3 separate regions of the Homo sapiens genome follow, and regions 2 and 3 are each linked to region 1. The links are contacts of gene promoters, found by promoter capture Hi-C in human tissues and cell types (Jung and others, 2019). All regions are on one chromosome and are shown on one strand. The core of a region is centred on a gene start or on the middle of the fragment in contact, and the rest is flanking DNA. Distances in the headings are between cores, read along the strand shown. Region 1 holds the start of SLC13A5 (solute carrier family 13 member 5). Region 2 holds the start of FBXO39 (F-box protein 39). Region 3 has its middle 4.1 kb from the start of MIR4520-1.

The links. Contacts are between HindIII fragments. The study calls those that stand out against the background at their distance.
Region 2: a contact is called between the fragment with the promoter of FBXO39 here and the fragment with the promoter of SLC13A5 in region 1, in 2 of the 25 tissues and cell types used here (mesendoderm cells and thymus).
Region 3: a contact is called between a fragment that was not itself captured here and the fragment with the promoter of SLC13A5 in region 1, in 6 of the 25 tissues and cell types used here (liver, mesendoderm cells, ovary and 3 more).

Annotation. Positions count from the first base shown.
Region 1 is chr17:6,711,778-6,715,346 of GRCh38, forward strand. It overlaps SLC13A5 (solute carrier family 13 member 5), which reads right to left and starts at 1,592. Exons shown (of 12, transcript NM_177550.5): 1 at 1,455-1,592. The coding sequence starts at 1,556. The HindIII fragment of the contact is 16,548 bases long and covers 1-3,569 here.
Region 2 is chr17:6,774,587-6,778,155 of GRCh38, forward strand. FBXO39 (F-box protein 39) reads left to right here and starts at 1,629. Exons shown (of 4, transcript NM_153230.3): 1 at 1,629-1,686. It overlaps XAF1 (XIAP associated factor 1), which reads left to right. Exons shown (of 7, transcript NM_017523.5): 7 at 1-1,061. LOC124903905 (a long non-coding RNA gene) reads right to left here and starts at 1,524. Exons shown (of 3, transcript XR_007065594.1): 1 at 1,434-1,524. The HindIII fragment of the contact is 13,622 bases long and covers 1-3,569 here.
Region 3 is chr17:6,657,872-6,661,440 of GRCh38, forward strand. It overlaps the pseudogene ALOX15P1. Among named protein-coding and RNA genes, the nearest start is that of MIR4520-1, 4.1 kb to the left of the region's middle. The HindIII fragment of the contact is 8,121 bases long and covers 1-3,569 here.

The DNA of each region.
Region 1 (3,569 bases), core at 342-2,841:
TTCCAGGGAACATCACTCCCTACCAGCAGAGCTGAAATCGCAGCTCTCCTGCCTGGCTACTTCCCCTGGACAATAACAACCCCAGACTTCTTGCTACAGAGGAAGTGTGGCTGCCCACAGTTGGTGTGGCAACTGCACAGCCTCCACAGTTGGATCTGCTGTCCTTGACCCATCCAGGGCCTGTGCTAGGCCCACCCAAGGGCTCCTCCCAGTCTCCCCCTCCCCCATCCTAGGAACTAACGTTAATCCCTTTTGATTCCCAAAGCCTTAAAGTGTCAGAACCAAACCACCTAGCCCCATTGTACAGATGAGAACACCAAGGCCCAGAGAGCACAGGCACTTGGCTAAAGTCACACAGATGACAGAATGGTGGAAGTCCAGTTCTCTTGCAGGTTGGCTTCCTGACACCCCAGTGCACTCCCTTCCTCTAGAGCTCCCCCCCAGAGCATCCCCTGAAGAGCTCCTCTGTTTCCCAAACCTGCCTGGGGAGGGGAGGTGGGGAGCTGGAGGTTTCCTGTCTGGGCTGAGAGTGAAAGGGCTGAAAGAAGGAACGAGGAAGGAGCAGCCAGCAGCCACAAAAGGCTTCAAAGGGCTTGGGCCTCCGCCAAACTGGCTGTGCACAGCCCAGTGGAGCCTGCGCCCACCCTGCGGCCAAGGCCATTCATTCTCTCTCTCCCTCACAGAAGCATTAGGAGACTAGGGCCTGGGAGGAAGCTTCCCTGCAACTCCAGGTCCTGCCACCCAAGGCGCGAGCTCTGGGAATGTGTCCCGCCTCCTGCTACAGCCCCAGCAGGCAGGAGGCAAAGCAGGCCAACCCCAACCTGCCTGCAGCCTGGAGCAGGATTATGAATCAGATGTGGCTCTCCAGGTTGGAAGGAATGTGGATCATAGATAGAGACACTAAGGCCCAAGGAAGGGCCAGAGAGTGGCAAAGACAGCGCAGGATCCACGTGGGTGATGATTTTTTTCCTGTAGGTCCCTCCTGACGGCAGAAGCCACCTACAGCTTGAAGTCTTCTTTGGCGAAGGGAAAAGACAGGAGAGAGAGAGGGAAAGGCAAGCTCCCAGGTTCCCTGTTGGCGCAGGTGGCATTTTGGGGGGAAACAGGGTTATGCACTGTGGGAGATTCGATTCGGAGCCAGGGGCTGAGCCTAAGGCTGGGATCTGTGTGGCTGAGATCTGTGCTCACTTCGAGGTTTCCGTGCTTGCCTGGACGGCTCTTGCGCCCTGGGATCTGTAAACCCCAAGGGTGGTGCGCCCTGGGGTCGCCATGCCCCTCAGATTCTTTACAGGGCACCTCCCATCCGGCACCTGGAGCTCCTGAGTGCGCGCGCCCCGGGAGAGCTGTGCTCCCCGCGAAATCCGTGCGCTCCAGCTCAGGGCTCCCGGGATCGGTGCCCGTTAGTGGGCACAGGACGCCGGGTGTCCGAAGGGCTGCCTGGAGATGCAACTGACCTTGGCGGGCATCAGAATGACGAGTGGCAGCAGCAGGAGCGGGGTGACGAACAAGATCACGAAGGACTTGAACTTGGAGACATAGCTCAGCGCCGAGGCCATCGCGCGGGAGGGAGACTGGCGGGCGAGACGAGTGAGGGGCAGCTAGAGGCGCCGCGGGCTTAAGAAGGGGCCACAGTCCCCGGGGATTGGGGAGGGGGCGGTGACAACTCCGCCCCGCACGGGGGCGCCTCCCCGCGGCCCTGGGGCGGGGCCACCCCTCGGGGTCTGTGGGACGCGCCTGCCCCCAATTCTGCCACCCGGCGGCGGTGGGAGGCGTCTTTGGACTCCAACGCTTCGGGCCAGCCCTCTAGGGGCAGCCTGGGCCCTAGCATCTCGCGCTGTCCAAGCCTCTCCTGCGCTGCCGAGGCAGAGGTGCGTCCCGGGGCTGCCAAGCGGGGCGTGTTTTGGTCACTGGTGCTGCCCGCTTTGGCGTAAGGCGCCCTCCCGCGTCCGCATCTGCTCTTTCCTGGGCTCTGAAGGGTCCCGGATGAAACTCTCTGCAGGCCTCTGGGTCTCTCAGGTCTATCTCCCCGATCTCCCTCTCCTTTCCATCTCCTTACTTCCGCCCCTCCGGTGTCTCTCCGAGAGGTGTCCCCCCACGCCCCGCGCCCTCCGCACCGCGGGCCTCGCTTCCCGGTCCCCCCTGGCTTCCTCGCCACGTCCGCCCCACTCTAGGTGCAGGACCCCTTTTCCCCGCTCGCACTCTCCGGCCCGGAGCTCCTGGGCGATCGCACAGGGAAGCGAGGCCACTGTCCTCCTCTGTCCCAGGGGCTGTCGCGCTCCAGTGGACGCTGCACCCCGCAGACGCCCGGCGGGCAGATGCGGACACGCGTCTTGGAGGGGCCCCACCGAGCCTCAGCAGCCGCAGCTGCCCGCCCGACCCAGGTCAGAGGGAAACGGAGCTCTAGAGAGGAAGGGACACAACTAAGGCGACACTGAGACAGTCGCCCATGTATTCATTCAGCCCGCCAGGCAACAGACAGGTGCCGAGCACCTCTTCTCCGCGAGGCCCTGTTTTGGGCACTGGAGACACACGGATGCAAAGACATCCCCACCTCTGTGATTTTCTTCTTTCCTCTCCTCTGCCTGCCTCTCATTCTGCAGCTTCCTTTTGGGGAGTCTCATCCATGCTGGTGGCCTAACCACAGCCGGCTCCTTAGTGATTACCATCCTCTGCCTTCAACCCAGCCATGATGCCAGAGTCCCAGATGTCCAGCCTTCCGCAGACTGGACGTGTCTCGGCCCGAAAATTCAACACATCCTGAATCAAGCTCATGAGTTCCTTCCTGTGACCTGCACCCAAGGACATGCATTCTCCCAAGCCCCTCCTGCAATTGCCTCCCTCCTGTCCTTTTCCCTTTGTAACTCTCATGCATATAGCCCTGGGTTTTCCCGCCTTTCCTGTGTCCCCAGGGCACTTAGCACAATTTGTACCTCTTATATTTATTGGTGTAATTTTTACTTTTTACTTTTTTATTTTTTAAGTGTTATTTCATTTTTAATTGACAAATCATTGTCTATATTTACGGGGTACCATGTGATTTTTCAATGTGTGTATAATTGTGGTGTGTTCAAATCAGGCTAATGAGCATATTTATCACTCGAATATTTATCATTTCTCTTGTTTTTGTTTTTTGTTTGTTTGTTTGAGACAGAGTTGTGCTCCTGTCACCCAGGCTGGAGTGCAGTGGCACGATCTCGGCTCACTGCAACCTCTGCCACCTAGGTTCAAGCAAATCTCCTGCTTCAGCCTCCCAAGTAGCTGGGATTACAGGTGTGCACCACCACGCCCGGCTAATTTTTTGCATTTTTAGTAGAAATGGGGTTTCACCATGTTAGCCAGGCTGGTCTCGAACTCCTGACCTCAGGTGATCCGCCCACCTCGGTCTCCCAAAGTGCTGGGATTACAGGCGTGAGCCACCGCGTCTGGCCCAAATATTTGTCATTTCTTTGTGGTGAGAACATTTAAAATATCTTGTAGCTATTTTAAAATATATGACACATTATTATGATGTAATTTCTATTTACTGTCTGTTTTATTCATCACCACCTGTCCAGCTAGTGCCTTTCTCA
Region 2 (3,569 bases), core at 379-2,878, 63 kb after region 1:
TTACCATTTGACTCAGCAATCCCATTATTGGTTATATACCCAAAGGAATCTAAATCATTCTGTCATAAAGACATATATACACAAATGTTCACGGCAGCACTATACACAATCGCAAAGTCAGGGAATCAAACTAAATGTCCATCAGTGGTAGAAAGGATAAAGAAAATGTGGTGGCAGGGAGTGGTGGCTCATGTCTGTAATCCCAGCACTTTGGGAGGCTGAGGCGGGTGGTTCACCTGAGGTCAGGAGTTTGAGACCAGCCTGGCCAACATGGAGAAACTCCGTCTCCGCTAAAAATACGAAAATTAGCCAGGCGTGGTGGCGAGCACCTGTCATCCCAGCTACTTGGGAGGCCTAGGCGTGAGAATCGCTTGAACCTGGAAGGTGGTGGTTGCAGTGAGCCGAGATCCTGCCACTGCACTCCAGCCTGGGCAACCAAGCGAGACTCTGCCTTAAAAAAAAAAAAAAGAAAATGTGGCACATATACACCATGGAATACTATGCAGCCATAAAAAAGAATGGGATCATGTCCTGTGCAGCAACGTGGATGGAGCTGGAAGCCATTATCCTAAATGAACTCACTCAGAAACAGAAAACCAAATACCACATGTTCTCACTTATAAGTAGAAGCTAAACATTGAGTACACATGGATACAAAGAAGGGAACCGCAGACACTGGGGCCTACCTGAGGTCGGAGCATGGAAGGAGGGTGAGGATCAAAAAACTACCTATCTGGTACTATGCTTTTTATCTGGATGATGAAATAATCTGTACAACAAACCCTGGTGACATGCAATTTACCTATATAGCAAGCCTACACATGTGCCCCTGAACCTAAAAAAAAAGTTAAAAGAAAAACGTTTGGATTATTTTCCCTCTTTCGAACAAAGACATTGGTTTGCCCAAGGACTACAAATAAACCAACGGGAAAAAAGAAAGGTTCCAGTTTTGTCTGAAAATTCTGATTAAGCCTCTGGGCCCTACAGCCTGGAGAACCTGGAGAATCCTACACCCACAGAACCCGGCTTTGTCCCCAAAGAATAAAAACACCTCTCTAAAAGCTGCTCTTCCACCTTTCTTTGGGTTCCGCACTGGTTTTCCAGGGCCAGGAATGGCAGCAGCCAGGACCCCAGGATAAGGGCAGTGCCCAAGGAAAGGGGAGCAGAAGACATTCAGGGAGGGGGAAAGAAATGAGGCTGGGACAGTGGATAAGGGCCAGGTGAAGGGGAGAGGGGCGGCTTCTGAAGGCTTTGGGCAGGGAGAGTGGCTGGGGGAAGCCTAGTAATGCAACCTATCCAGCGGCGGCTTCGGAAAAAACCCGGGGCTGGGTCAGGATGGGAAAGGCAGCGAACTGAACCGTTTTGAGCCCCAAGTTCGGGGCCGAATGTCTTCCCTGTGCGCAGAAGCAAGGGCGGGGGCGTGCCATCCTCACCCGGAGCGCCGGCCGAGCCTCCCGCCTCCCAACGCCTGGCCAGGGCCCCGTCTCGCCCTCTGCACATGGGATCCACTGACCAGGCAACTGCAGGTTTGGGGCTCTGCGACCCGGGGGCAGGAACAGAGCCTTGCAGGCGGCAGCGCGTCACAAAGGCGGCCGGAGCTTGGCATTTAGCTTGGGCCAGAGCAAGGCGCAGACCCGGGGCGCCCATGGAGTTGGCGTCGGAGCAACAGCTGCGCGGGCGGAGCAGGTAGGCGCGCTCCAGTCCCTGCAGCCCGAGCGGGGTTCAGCGAACGGGTAACGGGAGAATGCGGGCCGGAGCAGGCTGGGGTGGCGGTGGGATGCCCCGAGGCCCGCGGCGGGGAGGCGGGCTGCTCTCATCACCCCCTCTGGGAAGCATCTTTGGCTGCAGGAGTTGCCAGGCCAACTCCCCCTCCCGCGGTGGGTAGGACATCTTTAGATTTCCCTCCCTGGTTGGCAGCTGTGTGATATGGTGGACCAACCCTGGGTTCGAATCCTATCTCCCCACTTACTACACGTTCTCCCTGGGAAACTTTATTCACCTTCCAACACCTCCGTTTCCGTATTTGTGAAATGGATGTGTTTGTATTCCTATCTTCCTTGGCGGGACGTTGCAGAAGTACCTCGGCACCAACTTTCTTATTAATGGCAGCCAGCTCTTGTATAGCGTTTACTACGTGGCAGGCACTCACTGTTCCCGGTGCTTTCCAGGTATCAGCTCACTTAATCCTCCCAACACTAAGAGAAAGGCACTATTATTACCCCATATACAGATGTGAGGATTCACACATAAAGAAATTGACTTGCCTAAGGTCATCCGACTGTAATGGGCATAGCTAGGATGCAGCCCACTAAGCTACACTGCCTCTGATGGGGTCTCGGGGGGTAAGGGGAGGCTCCCAGTCATTAAATAGAATTTGGAGTCTCCTTACAGCAACTCTTCCAGACACACATATTCTTCCAACCCCACCCTTACAGCACCAGTGTCTGATGACTTTTCCTGACCTACAACCTTGCTAGGCCAAAAGGTTTCATGGAGCTTTTATTTACTTATTTATTTTATTATACTTTAAGTTCTGGGATACATGTGCAGAACATGCAGGTTTGTTACATAGGTATACATGTGCCATGGTGGTTTGCTGCACCCATCAACCTGTCATCTAGAATTTAAGCCCCGCATGCATTAGGTATTTGTCCTAATGCTCTCCCTCCCCTTGCCCGCCACCCCCCGACAGGCCCCATTGTGTGATGTTCCTCTCCCTGTGTCCATGTGTTCTCATTGTTCAACTCCCACTTATGAGTGAGAACATGCAGTGTTTGATTTCCTGTTCCTGCGTTAGTTTGCTGAGAATGATGGTTTCCAGCTTCATCCATGTCCCTGCAAAGGACATGAACTCATTCTTTTTTATGGCTGCATAGTATTTCATGGTGTATATGTGCCACATTTTCTTAATCCTGTCGATCATTGATGGGCATTTGGGTTGATTCCAAGTCTTTGCTTCGTGGAGCTTTTAAACTGGTTTATCTCTTCTGCAGCACCTTTTAGGAGCTTTGCTTGGTGGTGAGTGCTGTGGAGATCCCTAGCCTTGGGCAGTTTGCAAGTGATTGAAGAGACCTATTTCTTCATTTGTTAAATGTTTAAGTACCTTCTCAAAAGCAGAAGGAGGTTGTCAAGGGGTGTGTGGGTCCCTTGGGAGAGAAAGGCAAGGACACAGATTATACAAAGAGGGGCACTGGCAAGAGGTAGCAGAAGGAGGCAAGCTAAATACGGACACAGCCATGCTGGGAACCACTAGGGCGCCACGTCATGGGCGGGACGGGCTGCTGTTCAGTCCTTTACGGAAGTCTGTTCGGATGTGGCGGTGGGAAGGCCAGCTGGAGACAGGGGCCAAATCAGTGAGTGGGTGGTGAGAGAAAGTGATGGCGTAGTGAGGACAAAGCCTGGAGAAGGTCCCTAGGGAGGCCCACAACTGTGCTTACTTGAGGATGCTCACTGCCACTGTGGTGTTGGTGGGAGCTGGAGGAGACTTGGGGTCCATCAAAGGAAAGAGGATGGGAGACAGGCAGGATACCTGCCATGGGTTCTATTCAGCTGCTAGACGCAATGGGTGA
Region 3 (3,569 bases), core at 781-3,280, 53 kb before region 1:
TTGAAGGATGGGTTAATTCTGAATGTGGCTGGGGCAAAACTATGTGACCTCCCTGTGGATGAGCAATTTCTGGAAGACAAGAGTGTTGACTTTAAGGTTTCGCTGGCCAAAGGGTGAGAGCAAGGGGAGGCTGGGTGAGAGGGAGGTGTCCTGGTCTAGTGGAAGCCAAGGGGCTTATGGGCTGCACTGCACTGCACTGGACCGGCTCAAGGTCGGTGCCTGTGGCTGTCATGTTGGAGTCTCAGAATGATGCTCAAACCCTTTGCCCCATTCTGTCCTGAAGGCTGGCCGACCTCACTATCAAAAACTAAATGTTCTGACGCTGGGCATGGTGGCTCACGCCTATAATCCCAGCACTTTGGGAGACTGAGGCGGGCAGATCACGAGGTCAAGAGATCGAGACCATCCTGGCCAATATGGTGAAACCCTGTCTCTACTAAAAATACAAAAATTAGCTGGGCGTGGTGGCACGCGCCTGTAGTCCCAGTTACTTGGGTGGCTAAGGCACAAGAATTGCTTGAACCCAGGAGGTGGAGGTTGCAATGAGCCAAGATTGCACCACTGCACTCCAGCCTGGTGACAGAGTGAGACTCCATCTCAAAAATAAAATAATGTTCCGACTTGCTAGAATGATCTGAATGACTTCAACCAGATTTTCTGCTGTGGCCAGAGCAAGCTGGCTGGTCAGTCCCCCACCCCAATATGTCTCCCAGGACGCTTACCCCCAGATCCCACCCAACCCAGGGGAATTGAAAGAAGCAGGGTGGGGAGACCAGAGACTTGGGTCCCTCTGGTGGGCTGGAGTCAAGGGGGCATGGTTGGTGGGGTTGGAAGGACCAAGAGCTCAGATCCCACAACTTGCTCAACAACTGCCTTCCCCAGAGCGCGTGCGGGACTCCTGGAAGGAAGATGCCTTATTTGGGTACCAGTTTCTTAATGGCGCCAACCCCGTGGTGCTGAGGCGCTCTGCTCACCTTCCTGCTCGCCTAGTGTTCCCTCCAGGCATGGAGGAACTGCAGGCCCAGCTGGAGAAGGAGCTGGAGGTATGGACATCAGAGCCCTGAGGAAGCTCAGCAGTGAAGTGGGGTGGCCTAGTGCCAATGATGCTGCTGCGGGACCCACTGTGGGCCTGGCTTGCTGCCAGCCAGCAAGGACGGATTCTGCAGGAGAGGTCCTGAGGGACCCTGGAGAAGCTCAGCTGCTCGGCCTCCTTCCCACACGAGAGTAGCTGTGGAGGGAGGGCGTGCAAGATGGAATGGTTGATAGAAACAGGGTCAAATGAAGAAATGTGACTGGCCCCTGGTGCTAGGGATTCGGGGAGTGTGCAGAGTAAGAGAGTCAGGATCAGAGTGCTGTGGCTGTTCATCAGGAGGCGATATGGAACAACAGAGAGGAAATTCATGGGATTAAGGGCAGATAGGCTTGGATGTGAATCCTGGTTCTGCTATTTGTAAGCTGTGTGACCTCAGGCAAAATACCCAGCCTCTCTGATTATCTGTTTCCTCTTCTGTGCAACTGAGGCTCGTTCAACTAGGTATAAAAATTATAAGGCTGGGCACAGTGGCTTGCACCTGTAATTCCAGCACTTTGGGAGGTCGAGGCAGGAGGATCACCTGAGCCCAATAGTTGGAGACCAGCCTAGGCAACGTGGTGAAACCCTGCCTCTACAAAAATACAAAAATTAGCACCTGTAACTTTTGGTGTAGTGGCATGCACCTGTAGTCCCAGCTATTTGGGAGGCTGAGGTGGGAGGATCACCTGGGCCCAAGGAAGTCAAGGCTGCAGTGAGCCATGGTGGTCCCGCCATGGCACTCCAGCCTGGGCAACAGAGTAATACCCTGGCTCAAAAAATAAACAATGATATGAGGCAATAAGCACATGATCCATTACCTGGTACAAAGTAGGTGATGGAGACAAGTTAGCTTCTCTCTCTCTCTCTCTCTCTCTCTCTCTCTCTCTCTCCTCTCTCTCTCTCTCTTCCCCCTTGGAGGAATCCGAGTGGGAAGAAGATGCTTTATGTTGATAGCAGCCTTTGACCTCTTCCTGCACCCAGGGAGGCACATTGTTCGAAGCTGACTTCTCCCTGCTGGATGGGATCAAGGCCAACGTCAGTCTCTGTAGCCAGCAGCACCTGGCTGCCCCTCTGGTCATGCTGAAACTGCAGCCTGATGGGAAACTCTTGCCCATGGTCATCCAGGTGAGAGGACTCAGGATTTCTGCTCCCAGTCTCCAGCCTTCTCAGCTCAGCCCCTTATCGAAATGCACTAAGCACCATCTTCAAAGGCGCTGGGCTAAGGCACCAGGGAGACGCGAAAGGAGGAAATGCGCCAAGTCTCTATTCGAAGGCCTTGCAATGTAGCTGGAGAGACACATAGGGCTAGTCTGCAGAAGCTCCGGGACTGAGGAAGTCCCGGAGGACAGAGACAGCCCAGGAGGGATCGGGGAGTTGGGATGTCACCAGCCTTGGAGGAGGGCCAGGTCTCAGACAAGCAGGAGGGAGAGGAAGGACCAGTCCTCAGGGGCAAGACAGACTGGGCAGAGGCTAAGGTAGAGGAGTCAGGAGATTCCTAGGGGACAGTTGGACTGGGGCCAGACTAAGCCAGGCTAAGGAGCATGAAGTGGGAAGCTGGAGAAGGCTGTGATGAAACATGCTATAGGCACGCGGTGTGGGCAGTGGTGTTTAGGGTGGGTTGGAGAGGGGAGATGCTAGAAACAGGGACTGGGGCAACATGCCCCAGCACTGACCCCAGGAGGAGGGGAGCTCGGATATGGGTAGTGACCGTCGGGATGGAGAGGACCGGTGGATGCGAGTGCAGAGGGAGATGAAGGAGAGGGGAAAGGGGAGCCAGGCCAGGTGCCTGCAGAAATAGCACCAATAAAGAGAACAGGGTGCCCAGGTAGACTTTTGTCTGGCCAATGTTGAGGTAACGGGAAGACATTTAAATTGTCCAGCAGGCAGCTGAGAACAAGAGATTCAGTCATTTGTGTAGAGGTGGGGCCAAAAGATGAGATTTCGAAAAACAGTGTGGGATGGAGGAAGCAGGTGGTTTGAATCTTGTCCACAATGCGGGGACTGAAAGGGGAAGTGGAGGCTGGAGGAGGCACCAGAAGAGCAGTTTCTGCAGAATGCTGGAGGCAAAGCAGCTTGCAGGGTGCTAATGCACTGAGCTGGTAGGAAGGGGAGGGGAGGAAATGGGAGCTGTAGGGAGAGGCAGGAGTGGGATGGGGAAAGCAGAACAGGTTTGGAGGACGAGGTTAACATGCAAGGGGGGCGGGAATCGCTGAGTGCCGGGCACTCATGCCTTCTCTCCCCACACTTGTCCCTGCTCCAGCTCCAGCTGCCCAGCACAGGATCCCCACCACCTCCCCTTTTCCTGCCCACGGATCCCCCAGTGGTCTGGCTTCTGGCCCAATGCTGGGTGCGCAGCTCTGACTTCCAGCTCCGTGAGCTGCAGTCTCATCTTCTGAGGGGACACTTGATGGCTCAGGTCATTGTTGTGGCCACCATGAGGTGCCTGCCGTCGATACATCCTATCTTCAAGGTAACACCTTATCCCCTTCTCTCCTGT